Linked DNA regions of Homo sapiens: region 1 is linked to region 2. Evidence: promoter capture Hi-C in human tissues and cell types (Jung and others, 2019). All regions are on one chromosome and are shown on one strand. The core of a region is centred on a gene start or on the middle of the fragment in contact, and the rest is flanking DNA. Distances in the headings are between cores, read along the strand shown.

The links. The method cuts DNA at HindIII sites, captures the fragments that hold promoters and counts their contacts. A contact is called where the count stands out against the background at its distance.
Region 1: a contact is called between a fragment that was not itself captured here and the fragment with the promoter of AK4 in region 2, in 1 of the 25 tissues and cell types used here (H1 embryonic stem cells).

The regions. Positions count from the first base shown.
Region 1 is chr1:64,704,931-64,708,507 of GRCh38, forward strand. No RefSeq gene overlaps it. Among named protein-coding and RNA genes, the nearest start is that of RAVER2, 38 kb to the right of the region's middle. The HindIII fragment of the contact is 5,055 bases long and covers 1-3,577 here.
Region 2 is chr1:65,146,646-65,150,067 of GRCh38, forward strand. It overlaps AK4 (adenylate kinase 4), which reads left to right and starts at 1,558. Exons shown (of 5, transcript NM_013410.4): 1 at 1,558-1,907. The coding sequence starts at 1,763. RefSeq lists silencers at 725-964, 975-1,474, 1,855-2,154, 2,215-2,494 and enhancers at 2,088-2,806, 2,807-3,422. The HindIII fragment of the contact is 12,604 bases long and covers 1-3,422 here.

The DNA.
Region 1 (3,577 bases), core at 1,010-3,509, 440 kb before region 2:
CACTTTGTGGGGCCGAGGCGGGCAGATCACCTGAGGTCAGGAGTTCAAGACCAGCCTGGCCAACATGGTGAAACCCCGTTTCTACTAAAAGTACAAAAAACTAGCCAGGCATGGTGGTGCACACCTGTAATCCCTTCTACACAGGAGGCTGAGGCAGAAGAATCACTTGAACCCAGGAGGCAGAGGTTGCAGTGAGCTGAGATCGAACCACTGCACTCCAGCCTAGGCACAACAGAGTGAGACTCCATAAAAAAAAAAAAAAAAAAAAAAAAAAGGATGAACATGATATACATAACATCACGGCTGAATCTCATAGATGTTATACTAAGCAAAAGAACACAAAAGAGCACATTTGGGATAGATCCTTTGATATGAAGTTCTAGAACAGGTAAAATTAATCTATAATGGAAAAAAATCTAAGCTGCGGTTTCTTCTGAGGGTCTGGGGCTGACTGGTGAGGGGCTCTGAGGTCATAAAAAGATGTATCATCTGAGTGAATCCATTTGTTAAAATTGTATAGTTGTGATTGGTGCATTTTGATGGATGTACATTTAACTTCAAAAAATAAAATTAACAAAATTGAGTGTCTAGTGTTGTGTCTATCTTGATACAATGTTTTAAAAATCCATTTTACCGAAAATTAGACTATCAGTTCTTCACCAAACATGGTCATCCTGGAATTCCCATCTCTGCCATCCTATTGTTGATTACCAGTTACCCAAGACTCCACATAAGGATGACCAGGCAGCTATAGCCACACACAGGAACATGGTTTGAGGGAAGGAATATGTTAAATTTGTTAAACGTGAGCAGTTGGCAGGGGTTTTATTTTTGAAGAATGAGTTGTGAGTACTGAATGGCCAGCCACACCAAGGGGACACAGGAGAGGAATTGTGAGTCACTTACTGTGCTAACTGATCAGCATATGTCAGGAATCAGTTTACAGAGATGGGGAGCAGAATAGATTAATAGGAAAGGGATACCATTCAGCCTTTTAATTATGGAAAAGTTGGAAAGGGCAAAGAAACAAAGCAAATGGGCATGTACATGTAAGAGAAAAAGAGGCAGCCTTACAGCTGTAGTTCTTTATTGGCCTCCAAAGGGCAATGGCCTTTTCATTGCATCCTCTTTTCATATCTTGTAGAAACTGGGATGCAAATGTGGAATTTCAGCAGACAGTGTCTATGCTAGTGGTGAGGAGAGGGACAGGGTAGATAGATACTTTTCCTCCTAGGCTGATGACTAGAATTCCTGACAAAGTATAACAACTTCCAACCAAGTTCATCATAACGTTTAAAATATAAAATACTTGAAGGGTGTTATGAGGATTAAATGGATCCATAAATTAACAACATTACCTGGCATTAAAAAGCAATCAATAAATATTACTTAGACCAACAGTCACAGCAGTAATAATATGAAGAAAAATTAAATTCAGACTATTTTTGCTTTTTGCAAACACTTCTTAGTTAACTTCAGTTTTTAAGGACTCTAGCCTTTCTCAGCTGGAAGAAAAGCAAAGAGAGAAAATAGAATACTTTCACAACTTGATCCAGATTGATAGGGTAGTTAGAAATTGCTAGTTTCCTTTTTGGGGTTAGGGATGGATGGCATGGACAGCCTGGATACTCAAGCAGTCCCTGCCTTCGGGGAGGCTGGGGCAGACAGTGAAATAGCATCCAGATAAGAAGGGTATGAGGGAGGCCACTGGGGCCAGAGTACCTTTGAACTAGAGCCATCCACGTAAGCTACACTGTGGGCTATTTTCTCCATTTCTCACTGTCCCATAAGCCTCATTCATTAATGGATTAAATAGCTGATCCTCAATGTTGGAGGACAATGTTTGAATCTATGTGGGTACTTTTTTTTGTTTTGTTTCTTGTTTTTCTTTTGTTTTTCTTTTTTTTTTTTTGAGACAAAGTTGTGCTCTGTTGCCCAGGCTGGAGTGCAGTGGCGCAATCTTGGCTCACTGGAACCTTCGCCTCCTGGATTCAAGCAATTCTCCTGCCTCAGCCTCCCAGGTAGCTGGGATTACAGGTTCACGCCATGATGCCCAGCTAATTTTTTGTATTTTTAGTAGAGATGGGATTTTGCCATGCTCACCAGGCTGGTCTCAAATTCTTGGCCTCAAGTGATCCACTCACCTCGGCCTCCCAAAGTGCTGGGATTACAGGTGTGAGTCACCGCACCCGGCCTGTGTAGGTACTTTTTAAAATGTTTTTATTACCATAAAATATATACAACATAAAATTTCCTACTTTAACCATTTTTAAGTGTGCAATTCAGTGGCATTAAGTGCATCCAAAATGTTGTGCGACCACCATCACTATTTCCAAAACTTTTTCATCATCCCAATATGTGGGTTCTTTTTAATTCCTCTGATTTGTGAAATGATAATTTCATGACTGAATGTTAGAGCTAGAAGGAACTTGAAGATTATCTCCCCACCGCATTCGTACAAATAAGGAAATTGACATACTTGAAGGTTTTACTCAAGGCCACAAAGCTAGATGATGGCAAGGGCTGGAACTCAAATACAGGCTTCTTGATTCTTAAGCACAAGAGAGTAGTTTGAATAAGTGAATTAATGTCTAACAACCTGCAGAGGTTAATAAACAAAGGCAGCTAATTTTAGCTTATTATTGCCATCGATGGTGTCAATTTTTTAAAGAAAAAGGAAAGATTTTCATCTGAATATCAATAATATTAAACATCGTGTGGGGGAGAGAACATGTTTGGAAGGTGTAGTCGTTAATTTTGTGTGTCAACTGGGCCACAGGATACCCAGATATTTAGTCAACCATGATTCTGGGTATTTCTGTCAGGGTGCTTTGGATGAGATTAACATTGAAACGGGGAGGCTGAGTAAAGCAGACAGCCTTCCATAAAGTGAGTGGGCCTCAGCCAATCCGTTAAAAGACTGACTAGAACAAAAAGCCTGGTCCTCTTCTGAGTAGCAGAAAATTCTTCCTGCCTGACAGCCTTCGAACTGTGATACTGAGATTTTTCCTGCCTTTAGACTCAAACTGAAGCATAGGCTCTTTCTGGGTCTTGAGCTTTCTGGCCTCTGGACTGGAGCTATACCATCGGCTTAGTTCTCAGGTCTTTGAACTTGGACTGAAACGAAACCATTGGCTCTTCTGGGTCTCCAGCTTGTCAAATCACCCTGCAGATTTGGGGACTTGTCAGCCTCCATTATCATGTGAGCCAATTCCTTATAATAAATAAAGATATTCTATTGGTTCTGTTTCTCTGGACAATCCTGACTAATACAGGATTGAGTCAATATTGAGGCCCCTGGACACCCAGCAATCTAGGTGTGCTGTGTGGGAATCATTGAAGAGTGTGAATCCAGCAACTATCAAAGTGCCTGGAGTGAAATAGACAATAGACAGAATAGACAATCGGTGTTTATTTGGATACCTAAATGACTATATCATGAATAAGATTCATCATTTTCTCCACAGATTAGAACTTCAGAGGTATTCAAGAAAAGCCTACAGAAAAAATGTTTGTCTTCAGTGGGAAGTTAAGTAATTGACCAATCAAGTTAGTTATTCATTCATTCATTTGTTGA
Region 2 (3,422 bases), core at 308-2,807:
AAGGCAGAGGAGGGGGCCTGCAGAATGCAAAGGTGTACGGAAGGCATCTCTGCGCCCCTGCTGAAGATTTTTCACTTTATCCTGAAGGGAAGACAATATCTGAGGCCGGGAAATAATAAATATTGATTTTCACTTTATCAGTATTCCTGGCAGCTGCACGGAAAATGGAATGGCACAGAAACTGGAGTCTTATGGGCACTTATCCCACTAGTTGGGGTGGGAAATTAAAGGCTGTGTGTAAGGTGGGCACAGATCTAACAGAATGTGGATTGGGATATGCAGGGGAGGGTGGAGTGGGGGAAGACAGACTCCATTTGGACTTGGTGAGTTATAGGTGCAGCACCAGCATAATGCGCATGGAAGTCCTGGAATCATTTACCAAGAAGGTCCTGAACACAGGTGAGGGACATCCCCTTCTTCCCTGTTCCCTAAGGCGCCTAGACTTTGGAGTCAGTCAGTCTTGGGTTCCAGCCTCCCGCTAGGACGCAATTTCTTGAGAGCAGGATTCGATCTGTTGTTCACGGCTAGATCCTAAGCGCCTAGAATAGTTTCTGGCACACAGTAGGCACTCAATAAACATTTGCAGAATGAATCAATGAATGAATGGTCACGCTCCATTCCTCGGCTGTAAACACAATGAAATCACCTAGCCGCAAACTTGGCGCACAGTAGGCGCTCAACAAGTTGTATTTTTCCCTTCCCTTGCAGTAGACCGCGGTCCCCAGGCGACCGCGAAAGAAAAAAAGGGGTTTCTCTACCTCGCGTGGTCTGCACCTCGCTTCGCCCCCGCAGCCCTCGCTGGGTCGCAGGGAGCACGTGGGCCAGGCAGGCTGGGTGGGAGTGGAGTGGAGTGGAGGGGAGGGGGCGGCGGCCAGCGGCTCGCGCGGAGCCGGTCTCCCGGGCTTACGTAAGGCGCGAGTCCCGCGCGGCCGGCCGGGGCTCCGCGACTGGGCGGGCGGAGGCGGCGCCGCCCTGCAGGATCCGGGCTGGAAGCCTCTCGGAGTGCTGCCTCCAGCCAAGGTGTGTGTTTATTTGATTGCTTTTGGTGGCGAGGCGCGGGGCTCGGGCTCGTCGCGCGCCCCATGGCCGGGGAGCGCATCCGCCAACCCCGGGCGGAGGTGGGCCCCTCCGAGCGCGCGCGGGCGGCGGGCAGCGGCGGCAGCTGAGACTCCGGGGGATGTGACAGCCGCCGGGGAGGGGACGAGACGCAGACCACACGTTGCCCACGTGCGAGGACCGGGCAGGGGCTCAGCCCCTAGGCCGCCCGGTGCGTGGGGCGGCGGGGGCTGGCTTTGAGTCACCCCCGCTTGTGCCAGCTTCCCCGGCTCGGCGGAGACTGGCTTGGGGATGCCTGGCCGCCCGGCCCCCTTCTCGGACGCGGCGTGGGGAGCGAGCTGGAGTTAAGGATGAAGGTGGGACTGGCCGGGCCGACCTCTGACCCCTGGAGGCCGAGTCGGCAGGGCGGGGCACGGCGCGCTTCAGCAGCTTTGCGTGGGGGCGAGGAGGTGGAGGAGGGCGAGGAGGTGGAGAAGGGCGGGGAGGTGTAGCGTGGCGCTCAGTCCGCCTGCTACTCGGTCCCGGCGCTGGGCTGAGGGGAGGGGTTGTCTTAAAAGTCTCTCCTTCCCCCTGTAGGGGCGGCCGGCGAGTCCCAGTGAGAGCGGAGGGTGCCAGAGGTAGGGGGCCGAGAAACAAAGTTCCCGGGGCTTCCTCCGGGGCCGCGGTCGGGGCTGCGCGTTTGACCGCCCCCCTCCTCGCGAAGGCAATGGCTTCCAAACTCCTGCGCGCGGTCATCCTCGGGCCGCCCGGCTCGGGCAAGGGCACCGTGTGCCAGAGGATCGCCCAGAACTTTGGTCTCCAGCATCTCTCCAGCGGCCACTTCTTGCGGGAGAACATCAAGGCCAGCACCGGTGAGGGGCTGCGGGGACGAGGGCCGGGGGCGAGCCGCGTTGGGCTGGGGTGAGGCCCTGGAGGGACTGGGGCTCCCGGATCACGGCGCCCTTCCCCCGCCCGCGTGTGGTCGTGCAGGCTCGTACGTGCCGGGGCGCATGCAGCTGGCGGCCGCGCGGCTTAACCGCGCCTGGGGAGGAGGCCGAGGCTCCAGGGGCGGCCGGTGGGAGGTGCCCACGGCTCCTCTCCACCGCTCCTCCTGTCGCGAGGAATAGCCCGAGCCACCCGGCCGAGGGAACGAGAACTAGGCAGGGAAAACCCGGAGCTTCCGTCTCACGCTGCCCTCCTTAAGGCAGAGCCGTCCCCGTACCCCTTAGCCCTGGCCCCCTCCCCCGAGTCCCTAGAGAGCCGCGCGCCCCCTCCCGCGGGAGCCCAGAGGCGGAGCGCCGCCCACCTGTGGCAGTCGGGCGGGGCCGCGCGCCGGGGAACCTGTGGCGCCGGGGGGCTCGCAGCCTCGCGCCTCTCCAGCCCCTCCACGCAGCCTCGGGCCTCGGGGCAGAGCCCTGGGTGGCTTTGAAAGGCCTGTCTGTTCGTTGTCGCCTTCTAAGGTAAACTCTCCCCAGCAACTCCCCCCCCTCCCGAAGCCGCCGGGCCTGGCCGTCAGGAGACTCGGAGGAGACTCGTTCTGATAAATTACATTTTGTAATGCAGCTTTCCTGGAAATGGCTTCTTGAGCTGCCTCCCTTGGCATGAGATGCCTCCTTTGGCTGGCGTGGTGAACTTGGGGATATATAGATCGCCTGATTTCTTAGTCTGACGGGGTTGAGTGCGTCCCTTTCCCCCTCTCCTCCCACTCCACGTTCACACCAGTTCCGAAAGAATTGGCGTTAAAAGGCGAGAGGTAGCGGTTGTGCTGCTGCGAGGCTCTTAACCCTTCTGGGATGGAGATGCTGGTAATTAGCAACTCCTTTATGAAAAGTTGTTCTTCCCAGCAGGGGTCCTTTACTGTCGATGTACTTCTCAAGGATGTCCGGGCTGGTTATTGCCCATCATGGACTAATTATCCGGAGATCTGCATTTCAGAAGCACAGACTGGCTTGAAAAGGAAGGTGGAGGACAGTACCAGAAAACAAAAGGAAAGCTTAAAAGCAAGGAATTAAGAAGTATCTCCAGAATTGTATTCCTTATCTCTTAAGCAGATTGAAAAAGCGGACTTTTACAGGAAACTCTTCCCCCACCCCCATGTCTCAAAAGGAAGAATTATGTGTACCAGATTGCACTTGAGTTTTCTGTTGTGGGTATTGTTACCTCAAGTGCGCCTATTTTGATTTTAATACATTCACATGCATTTTATTCTTGAAATGCTGCGGTTTGAGGGGAGAGCGGCCTGAGGGGGAAGGCTGGCTCTCATCCTAATGGTTTTGTGTTTAGGTTGGGCTTCTTCATGGTAGGGGCATGGAGTCAGTGAAGGAAGACAGTGAGAAGAGATGAGCCCATTCCATAATTCTCTGTACCTGACTAGGAGACTTGTTTCC